3 separate regions of the Homo sapiens genome follow, and regions 2 and 3 are each linked to region 1. The links are contacts of gene promoters, found by promoter capture Hi-C in human tissues and cell types (Jung and others, 2019). All regions are on one chromosome and are shown on one strand. The core of a region is centred on a gene start or on the middle of the fragment in contact, and the rest is flanking DNA. Distances in the headings are between cores, read along the strand shown.

What was found. The method cuts DNA at HindIII sites, captures the fragments that hold promoters and counts their contacts. A contact is called where the count stands out against the background at its distance.
Region 2: a contact is called between a fragment that was not itself captured here and the fragment with the promoter of CTSZ in region 1, in 2 of the 25 tissues and cell types used here (H1 embryonic stem cells and dorsolateral prefrontal cortex).
Region 3: a contact is called between a fragment that was not itself captured here and the fragment with the promoter of CTSZ in region 1, in 1 of the 25 tissues and cell types used here (spleen).

What each region holds. Positions count from the first base shown.
Region 1 is chr20:59,005,465-59,008,990 of GRCh38, forward strand. It overlaps CTSZ (cathepsin Z), which reads right to left and starts at 1,790. Exons shown (of 6, transcript NM_001336.4): 1 at 1,522-1,790; 2 at 858-1,021. The coding sequence starts at 1,664. RefSeq lists enhancers at 1,042-1,853, 2,534-2,693, 2,714-2,823, 2,964-3,043 and a silencer at 1,474-2,073. The HindIII fragment of the contact is 3,977 bases long and covers 1-3,215 here.
Region 2 is chr20:59,404,464-59,407,989 of GRCh38, forward strand. No RefSeq gene overlaps it. Among named protein-coding and RNA genes, the nearest start is that of EDN3, 110 kb to the left of the region's middle. RefSeq lists an enhancer at 1-472. The HindIII fragment of the contact is 6,284 bases long and covers 1-3,526 here.
Region 3 is chr20:58,675,199-58,678,724 of GRCh38, forward strand. STX16 (syntaxin 16) reads left to right here. Exons shown (of 9, transcript NM_001001433.3): 9 at 989-3,526. The coding sequence ends at 1,093. The region is part of intron 8 of STX16-NPEPL1 (STX16-NPEPL1 readthrough (NMD candidate)); the gene reads left to right. Among named protein-coding and RNA genes, the nearest start is that of NPEPL1, 16 kb to the right of the region's middle. RefSeq lists enhancers at 629-1,154, 1,155-1,679. The HindIII fragment of the contact is 6,742 bases long and covers 1-3,526 here.

The sequences.
Region 1 (3,526 bases), core at 540-3,039:
GAGCACACGCAAACGCATGTCCCCCAGCCTTGGCCCACAGCGGCAGCCACACTGTAGTCTATCCTTTTCACATGGGTGTACAGCAGGCCTGACCCATGAGGACCAAGGCCAGGGAAGAGGCAACAGCACCACAGTGCTCATGGGCCAAACTCCCAGGCCACGCAAGTCCCATCTCCAGGGGAAATCCAGGCTCCTGGACCCTGTGCTGTGACTGGAGAGGGGATAGCAGAGTCCCTTCCAAATGCTGTGGGGTGGGCCTGGGGCTGGTTTGCAGCTGTCCCTTCTCCCGCCTTCTCTCCCAAAGCAGGGTGCAGCAGCCTCGTTGATAGGGAGGGCCTTAGTTTCCCCTTCCTCTTTGCTAAGAGCCTCCCTACCCTACTCCTGCCAAAAGCCTAAGATAGAAACCCACCAGGCTGGAGGTAGTGACCAGGTTAGGCCATGGGCTGTAGCCAACTAGCCTCACCCAATATTCCAAGCCCAGGACAGGCTTTCATCTGTGCTGAGAAGCAGTTTACTTCTGTATCCTCAAATACAGCCTGGGGACTCAGTGATTTTGCATTTCTGTTTCTATCCCAATGGCTGAGGTCACAAGCTTTGGGGGAGAGAGGGCACCTGGCAGCCACTTGTCACTGGGATTCAGTCCTAGTCCTGCCTGTCACCCAAAAGCCCCAGAATGACCCAGCTTGGGTCACCTCAGCAGAGGGCAAAGGCCCGCGCTCCTCGGCCTTAGCACCCCAGCCCAGGCTGACCTGGCCTTGAATCACAGGCCCCTGGAACCGCGGGCTGAGCTGCCTGGGCCTATAAACAGGCAGCCGGGATGGGCTTTCCTGGCCCACAGTCAAAGGGCGGCCACTCACCCGCCATAGCGCTGGTGCTGGCGTGGGCCCAGCAGGAGCCGCAGTATTGGGGGATGTGCTGGTTCCGGGTGATGCTGGCATAGTTGACACCATCCACATTGCGCCAGTCCCAGCTCTTGGGCAGATCCGCTGGGGACAGGTACTCATGAGGCCGGGGGTATGTGCTGAGAAGAGATCATCCCCACCCAGATCGGTGCTGGGGCTCCCGGGGGCCGTGGGCCCAGGAAGCCCTCGGTAGGGCCCTCCCGCCTTTCCCAACACCTGAGGGCATGGGAGTGGGGCCACAATCACCAGAGGTGAGCCAGGTGTGGGCCCACCTCACACTAGGAGGCTCCAGCGCTCTCAGAATGTGAAGGAGGCAGGGCACCCCCGAAAGGAGGGAACCGGGTTGCTCCCCCAGCCATGCCGCGCCGTAAGGGCCACCCCCAGAGGCCGAGGAGGTGGGGCTGGCCTGGCTTTCTGGCCAGGTGGGGCTTGTCCAACCCCACAAACATCAGGGCTCACCCTGGATGTGGAAGAGAAGGAGCGACCCCCAAAACGAAGCGGCTGGATCTGACCTTCCAAGGCCTGTTGGCGACGCAGGGCCCCCAGGAGGCAGAGCGCGCGCCTGGCCCGGGCGATGGGCCTCCCGTCCCCCCAGGGCTGCCTCCCCGCCGGTGCCCACCTGCGCCCCAGCGGAGCCAGCCCGTCCCCCCGCAGAGGCCGGTAGCAGGTCTGTCCCCGGCGGAAGTAGAGGCCGCCCTGCGCCGCGCCCGCCAGCAGCACGAGCAGCAGAAGCGGCCGCCACCCTGGCCCGCGCCTCGCCATGGCCCCGCGCCGGCTCCTGGGTCCCGCTCCGGATCCCGCTCCGAGTCCCAGATCCCGCGCCGGCTCCCGCTCTGGATCCCGCCCCGGCCTCGGCCTCGGCCCAGCACCCGGCCGACCCCGCACTTTGGGCCCCTGCCCCGCCCGGCCCTTAAGGCTGCGGCGGCCAGGCCGGGACACTCCCCCGGGGCGGGGCTGTCCCATCGCTGCTCCTGCCCCGCCCGGTGACCCCTGCCCTCCCCGCCCGGCTCCGCGCCCCGCTCCCTCCCTGGCTCCGGGGCACCTGAACTCGCGGGCCAGGCGCGAGGTCGCCGGGCAGACCCCAGCCTGACCCCGCCGCCGGCCGCCGCCCTGAGCGCGGGACTGTCCGGCTGGACTCATTTGCCGGGGTTCCTGGCTTCGGGGTGGGGGGCCGCAGGCTCATGGGCCCCCTTGGCCCTGCATTCCTGGGGCCCTGAGCCCTGGGGAGAGGCCCCCAGCCTCACATCTGGGCCCAGGCCTCCCCTAGGAAGGGATCCTGGGATGCGGCCACCGCCCCCAAAGAAGGGTCCCCGCGCCTGGCTTTCTAAACCCCTTTTCCCAAAGGCCCAGGCCCTTTCGGGGGGACGGTTCCCTTTTGCAGAGAAGGAAGGAGGGATCCTTCTAGAAAATGCCCCAAAGGAAGATTCCACTTGGCGCAGGCATCAGGAGTTATCCAATGTGACTTCCAAAGACGCCTTGAAAAGGTTTTCTGCTAACGAAACTCTTCTTAGTCAAATGAGGAACCAAAAGCAGAAGTGGCCCCCCAGGACGTGGTTTTGTAACTGGGGGAGGGCTTCTCGCTCCCTGCGGCCCCTCTGTTTGTCATGGCCCTTGGGCCCACACCATGGCCTTCTTCTCTGGTAAGAACAGGGCCCGGCATTCTGGGCTGCGACCTGACAGGCCCCTGCTGGGGGCCCTTGGCACAGGGCCCACAGATGAGCTTGCCTGACTCTCTCCATACTCAGTGGCACTCACCACATTCCAAGCGTGCCACGTGGGCAAGGGGAAGTCACAGTGGCTGCCTCCTGACTTCCAGAAGCTTCCATGACCATTCCCGGAAGCGCTGAGGTGGCCATGGAATCCCCGCATGACTGTCCGAGTGGAGAGCAAGGCTGGAGAGCTGCTTCGTCAGCCCAGAAGTTTCAGTCCTTGTTCCCCAAAAAGTGGTCACTGAGGCAAAGTGTGGCCCCGGGGCTCTACCTACTGATGTGTCTCTTATTTGTTTGGCAAGTCGCTCATGGAAACCATTAGTGTCCATCAGTCATCAGAAGGCGGGGTGGGGTGGCCATCCTGGGAGAAGTCCCCAAGCTTGAGCTGGCGGTGGGGGTGGGAGCGAGGCCTCCCAACCTCTGGGCATAAAAGGAGTGGAAAGAGAATTGCCAAGAGGGGGCCTTTCTTCCTCCCATGTCAACCCTCTGGCCTCCCTGACTATAGGAGCTGGGTCCTTGTGAGGAAGAAACCCAGACACAGCTGCCCTTGCCAGGTCATCAGGTGGCATCTACCAAAGCGGCCGGTTTTTGGCTTCTTCTAAAGAAAAAGCTAAGAACTCACAAAATTGTGTGGTAAGAGATATCGTGCCCCTCCCTCCAGGTACCCATAGTTATGATCCAGGTACTGTGAAGTCCAACAGCACATTCTACAGCATGAGAAACAAGCCTGGAGAGGGGAGGGCCCCTTGTGCTTGGCCTCTGATGCCTGAGCTGTGATGTCCTGGGCCCTGGTCCCTGAATCTGGGTGAAAAGGCACCCAAGGTGTAAGCTTTTCTTTCCTGTAGCATGGGGAGAGCTGGGGTGCTCTGAAGATGCCCCGAGACTCTCCGAGCAGGTCCAGCGCATGTAGAAGGT
Region 2 (3,526 bases), core at 606-3,105, 400 kb after region 1:
ATCACATGAAGTATGAAGCTTTGAGAGCTTTTGTACCCGACAGGCTCTCAGGAGGCAGCAGTCCAAACGGTGGAGGGATCATTATGACTAAGCAGGCACAGCTCCCAGCCGAGGGGGAGCTGGATCTCCCTGGCATCGACCACCCCAGGATGGTTATGGGATAAATACCTCTGCAGACGTTCAAGTGGAGAGGCTCAGGAGGATGCCGGGAATGTCTGCTGTTGCTGGGTGGGGAATTCAAATGATTTGTGTTCACTGTATCCCAGCTAAGAAGTTCTGGGCCGGGGCAATCTTTCTGATGCCCTCTTGTCTCCTGTTAACAAGGATTAGCTCAGCAGTATAGACAGGACCATAAAATATACCACCTTAGCCAGATCCTGGGGAGGCCACTAATGGAGCCACACTGGGCCAGGTCCACGGGGGCCTCTCAGTCACAGCTGGGAGATGAGGCAAAGCCACCGTCGTCCTCACCTGCCCATCCACCATCCCGGTGAGGTCAGTGCTCAAAACCTGTCTTTATCCCAGTCCGGTCTCACAGGGAGTATTTGTGCTGCTTTAAAGCCCTTCCCGGTGTCCTACTTACTTCTCCCTCTCAACCCGCCGGCTGAGATAGGCTAAAGAGAACATCGTTTCTTCAACAGATGTTTATTGAGGACCTGTTATATTTCGGGAGCCGTGCTGGCCGCTAGGGACACAGCCTGAACAAGATAGGTCCCTCTTCTCTCAGGGAACTGACATTCTGGTGGAGAGAGGACAAAAACCATGTATTAATAAGTAAACAAGACAATTTCAGAAGACAAAGGCTGTGAATGAAGCAAAATAGGATAGACAGTAATTGGAGAGGGCTCCTTTACACAAGGGGCGGGGGGCGGGGATAAGAAGAAGGAGCTGGCTGAGTGCAGAACAGCAGGAAGGGTATTCTAGGCAGAGTGAATAGCAGGTTGAGGCCCGGGGTCAGGGGAGAATGAGCTCTGCCCGTTTGAGGAATGGCAGGAAGGGCCCTGGGGCAGGTGCGCAGTGGTCAGGGAAGCGGCCAGAGCTGGCTTGTGCTGGATGCAAAGAGAAGGTAAGGGATTGGAGTACTTAATAAATATTTGTCAAGTGAGTGAATGCATAATTTGATCTATCCATGTACAGTTGACCAGGTGGCGAAGGTTTGCCGAGTCAGCTTCTGTCCATTTTCTCTACTTAGTGGTGTCAGCTCTCAAAGACTTCTTGCTTCAGAGCCCCTCTCCGTGCTCCTGTGAGGGTGGGGATGAACCCTGAAAAGCCGTCTCCTTGTGGGCATTGCTGTTGTGTTCTCAGCATTCTTGCACGTTGACTTAAAGCTATTCAAACTCCTTATGAGCATCTGAGGGAGAGGAGCTGGATCCACACTCTGGACTCTTGACTCCAACTTTGAAATAAAATATTTAAACAGCCCATCTCATGATATTCAAAACAATAGTCTGAAAAGTATTCTGCAATAGTCATTGAAACAAAATGCCTAATTCCCAAATTACCAGTCTACAGAGTTCCCAAGGAAGAAGCGTGGATGTGAAACAGCTGCAGACTCCGTTGTTTCCTGGATGGCCCGAAACAGTTGTTCTCACTCAGTTTCACTTGAGAATCACTTTCAAGGAGGAGACTTTTTCAATTTGCCATAAATCTTACCATGTTTATTTTTAGAAGTTTCAGCTCCGTGATAATTTGCAAATGAGAAATGTTTAGAACCCATGTTGAACTGAACTTCCCCAAGAGGAGACTGGATTACATTAGATGAAATGGAAATAGAAGTCAAATTTTGGGGAACACTGACGTCCTTGCCATGAAACCATCCATTGTGGATGTGCCCTCATTGTGGAACCTCACCTGCAATGTTTATGTGCTGGAAATAGAATTATATCAGCCATTCACACTTTAGTCTAAACATGAGGCACTTGTTCCTGCTCTCCATCATGAATCCATGTGAATCCTAAAAAATAAGATATCTTTTGTCCCAATTTCACAGTGGACCAATGGAGGAGCAGTGGATGTGTAGCCACCGAAGTCTCAAGATGGCTTTGGAGGTTCTGGGTGATGATGGGGGCTCCAGGGTTTCTAAGAATCTTTGAGAAGTCCACACTTGGGAGCTGGAAAGCCATCCAGAGCAAGGCAAGTGTTGATCCTCACAAACAAGAATTTCCCAAAGTTGCGAAAGAAGCCCTGCTGAGGAAGCAGGAGTACTAAGCTTGAGTCTTGGCTCCCGCTCTCCCTGTGTGACAACAGCCAAGCTCTAGGCCCATAGAGGAAAGAGTCTGAATCCCCAATCCAAACCTTTCACTTCTCAGCTAGGAAACGGGGGCTTACTGAAAGAGGGCACTGCCAGGTTGCCAGTGCAAAAGTTGTCCTTTCTGAGCCTCAGTGTAAACCCACAGGGGGTGTCTTCCTCACAGTCACGTGAGCAGGCCAAGCCTTCCTTCTGACTCCCAAGTCATCTGTGGACAGAGACAGCTGGAGAAACGGTTTCCTAGAGCACTAGCAAGCCTCTAGCTGGACATACCTCCATTGAGTTTCATCAGAAACGGGTAAACCTGGGTGCAGAGTTGCATAAACTTAGGCAGGTGCATCCAGATCCCAGAGCCTTATTCCTGGATGTAAGGTTTCTTGCGAGGTGTGGCTTCTCTGCTTGCTGCAATCCAAGGAGTGAAAATGTATTTTGTATCTTCTCCTCAAGAAGAGAAGAAAATAACGAAAGAAGGAAAAACAATAAAAGAAGGGTAAAAAGAGGAGAGGCAAATTGAGCTACGTTGGGTTTATCTCAGTCATAAAATGAGGGATGACTTCCGTAAAGTTCATATTCTTTCTGCCTCTTGTCCAACTGTTTAAGCAATTATTGAGTGTCTCCTATGTTCTGGGGGCTATGCTGCAGCCTGAGGTTACAAAGAGTGGCAGGACCTGGCTGTGTCTTCAGTAAACCCCTACTTTCTACACTCAAGTTAGGGAGATAATGTCAAGGAGTTTAGCTTTTGCTTACTTGTTTCTTTTCTTTTTTTCTTTTTCCCTTTTCCATTTCCCTAGGCCTGTTTCTGTACCTTGCTCTTTCCTTCCTAGCTCTGCTCTCTCCATCCCTCTTTGACCACCACGTACAGTAATACTTTTATTCACTGAGTGTATTACGTTGAGTTTTATCTCACATGTCCTTTACTTTAGAAATGAATGACTCTGATTCATGGAACCTCTCTCCACACACAGGATTCATTTGCTTTTTTTGGCGTGTGGGACTCTGGATGGAAAAAATTTCTTGTCCTTGAATTCAGGAGCACTTCTATCATGCCTCCTATAATAAGATTGAAAGTTCTATTGGCCACATTTTTGGAGGACTGATTTTAGTCATAAACATATAGGTTCAGCAAGACACCCAGAAAAGTAGGATGTTTTTTTCAGGGCTCCTAGGCTAGTGCTCGGGTGAGAACACAAGTTGTTTAGATTCGGGGGCATTATGGTGCTCAAAGTTGACTTTAAATGAATGATAGAGTGACAGTAGCTTGCTGAAAGGTTTGGTGAT
Region 3 (3,526 bases), core at 647-3,146, 330 kb before region 1:
TGGATGAGGGGCTCCTCCAGGTGGGCGGGCAGGCTCACTTAGGAAACAAGCCCACCGCGGGGGATGGAGCAGGAGAGATTGCCATTCTCGCCAGGGCTGCCTTCCCGCTGTCTCCTCCTCCCTCCTGTGCCATAGCAAGGTCTGGAAGAGGCAGCGCATGCTCTCCCTGGACGTGCCTCCCGGCGCCCTCTGAACTCTGCTGTCCTCTGGCTCTCCTTTCTCAGTGCTCTGCGTCTTTCGCCAGCCAGGTGGGGCCCTTTGGCATTTCTCTAGCAGGCATGATGGAGTTCCCGCTCCTGCCGAGCTTCCAGGATGCGGTGTTAAGGTGAAGAGATGTGCAGGGTGCAGCCTCGTCCCCAGATTGAGCTTGGAGGGCTCCTTTGCTGTATCGTTAGCGGCACTGGGAGGACGCGCCTCAGAGGGATCTTTCTGCATATGACATCCATGGGGCACACGTGTCTGTTTTTATTTCAAAGGATGAGTTTTTGTTTCCAAATTTAGGGGAGGTCGAAATGGGGCCTCTTCCGGGTGTCTGTTGCCTACCTGCCAGGTACGGTCCTCCAGCCCGTTGTTTCCTTCCGCGGTGAAGGAACTGTGCATTCGCTCCAGGAACACGGACCGGGAACAGGCGACCCGTGCTGCAGGGGCACTTGCCACGGCCTGCAGGAGGAAAAGCCGGGAGAAGCAGGCCCAGCTGCACCCGGAAGCATGAGCTTTCACTTCCCTGTCAGGCTTTGTCTTAGTAGTAGGTTTCCAACAAATCCATTTCCACGTCCAGGGTAAATAAGCAGCACCAGGATCATGGGGCTCTTCCACTCCTGGTGATTGAATTCCGTGGGATTGATTGGAGGGATTACAATCATGTAGCCTGTAGCAGAGACCTCAGTCACTGTGCAGAGAGATCTGGAAGCCTCATTCTGGAAACGAGTGGGACTTGATTTGGGATTTTGGGGAAAATGACGGCCTTTTTTCCCTCCTCTTTTTGTAGGCAGAACAGTATCAAAAGAAGAATCGGAAGATGCTTGTGATTTTAATATTATTTGTCATCATCATTGTGCTCATTGTTGTCCTCGTTGGCGTGAAGTCTCGATAAGTGGCATTGGGTTTTCGTGTGTGCCGCGCGTGTGGATCTCCCGGGTGTGAGGGGCTTGGCCTGCGCCCCGCCAGCTGCCCGCAGAGGTGCAGCCTCGAGGAATCTGAGGGCGTCGGGGCAGCGAACCTTTGCATCCACGGACTCCTCCTTCCCTAGTCCTGCTCAAGCGGTCCGGGGAATGGGTTTTTGTTTTTCCTTCATTGTTGAGAATTTAAGGACCTTTGATACTGCTGCACAATAGAGATTGAGTTCTGGGATCAGTTATAATATATATTTTTTTTAGAAAGAGAAAATGAGCTGAGAGTTTACAGGCACTGCAGAAGCTGTTCAGTATTATATGTGTATATGCTATTTTTTTAGCAGCCATGTCTGAGCAGAATGTTAACATAATTTTTGGAAAAATTTTCTTTAAACCATCTGGTTTTTAAGAAATTTGGTACCAAAAATTGATGAGTAGAGGCAAAAATGCCCCTTCATCTTTCTCTATATATTTTCCAGTTGAAAACAAACTAAGAAGTCCTTTAAGAATTTATAATCCGTTCCCCATTAACTTAATTTAGCTTTTCCATCACTGTTAATGATCAGAGTAACAAAGTGTGAAAAATAAGAAACCATCATTGATGTTAATTAACACATTTAGATGGGCCAGTTAAAACAGCTTCATAAGTTTTAAATTAATTGTAAATGGAATATTCCTCATTTAAAATTTTTGCACTGCATTTTCTACTGTAAACCAAAAGAGGTTACTAAGCAAAACCACCTAAATTTAAGTTGGTGATTTAAATGAATCTCACATTAAAAGAAAGCTTGACAGTGTTATGAAAGCCACCAGACTCAGCCAGTGTGTCCCCATGGGTATCCCCAGCCATCCTTGCTCAATCCATTACTTATATACTAACTACATAATGACCTGTTCAAACCAGACTCTATTTAATGAACTGTGAATTTACACAGAGGCCATTTTAAATGGGTCACCCCATTTAGGATTAGTGGATCTCAAATTATTAACCAAACATCACTCCATTTCAAAGTAAAATATTCCACCAGCGATTTGATTTATTGGCTCTTCCATTGCCACTGAGCAATGCCCAGGAAGCAGGCACATTGCCAAGGACTGGGGGCATCTTGACTAGGAAGCTCCTCGTTTGTGTGAGCGTGGGTCAGACCGCCAAAGTAGGACTTCATCGTTTACCTACCTATTATCAATATGGTGCTTGAATATATTCCTATAACTGTAGAACAGTGTGGAAAGTGATGGTAACTTTGAAGTTGTTCATGTTTTATTGGCTTTGTTTTAATTGACACTAGTAGAGTTTTAATGGTCTTTGTGTAAATTTTAATGGCTTTTCCATTGTTTTTGCTTCTCTTAAAAAGTTTAAGAAGAATATGACCTCATTAAATGTGCTGTTTTATTTGGACCAGTCACACAAAATGTCTCTCTAGAGTTGACTTTAAAGTTGTTTACAGAAATTTAAACTCAATTCCAGAGATTGAAGTTGTCCAAACAGCTCATGGGCTTAGTGTCCAAACCCCTGCCCAGCCTTCCCTTTCCAAGTTGGTGCCACCTCCAGGTAGCCATTGGTGGTTTTCCTATTACTGATGTGGCTGTGGAATGATAAGGTCCTAGAGGGGCCCTGGCATTTCAGGAAGCGGACCTGGTATTCCCTGACAAACATTGCTTAGGAAAGAGGGCCGGAGAATAAGAAGCCAGCACCTCATCAGTCAGCCCTGCAATGTGAGACTTCCGTAGCTGTTGAGAGTCACTGCAGGTGTTCTTTCATCCCATCTGATTTTAACCCATGGTTGAGACGTTCCAAGTTAGATCTGCTGCTCTTAGGTGTGGGGCTGTCCACATTAGGGAACTTGCCTCAAAAACAGTCCACAGTGGCAATACCGGACTTCTGTTCAAGCTTTTTAAAGTGCTGAGCCTTACAAACCCCTGAAGGAAAGTGACCCTTTAAGAGAGGATCATCTTTTTTTATATTTATTTTCACCAAATAGGGTGATGAGGGTTGGTTTTTGTTCCCTCAACCCATTTGGGTAAAATAACGGATCTGATTAGAAACTGTTTTAAGGAGGGGCTGGGCTCGGTGGCTCACGCCTGTAATCCCAGACTTTGAGAGGCCAAGGCGGTCACGAGGTCAGGAGTTCGAGACCAGCCTAGCCAACATGGTGAAACCCCGTCTCTACAAAAAATACAAAAATTAGCCGGGTGGGACACGCCTGTAATCCCAGCTACTCAAGAGGCTGAGGCAGGAGAATAGCTTGAACCCGGGAGGCAGAGGTTGCAGTGAGCCGAGATCACACCACTGCACTCCAGCCTGGGTGACAGAGCGAGGCTCCGTCTCAAAAAAAAAAAAAAAAAATTGTTTTAGCGCTGGGTTTCCCAAGGTGGGAGAGACAGACCCAGCCTGGAGCTGGCCCCTGGCCTGT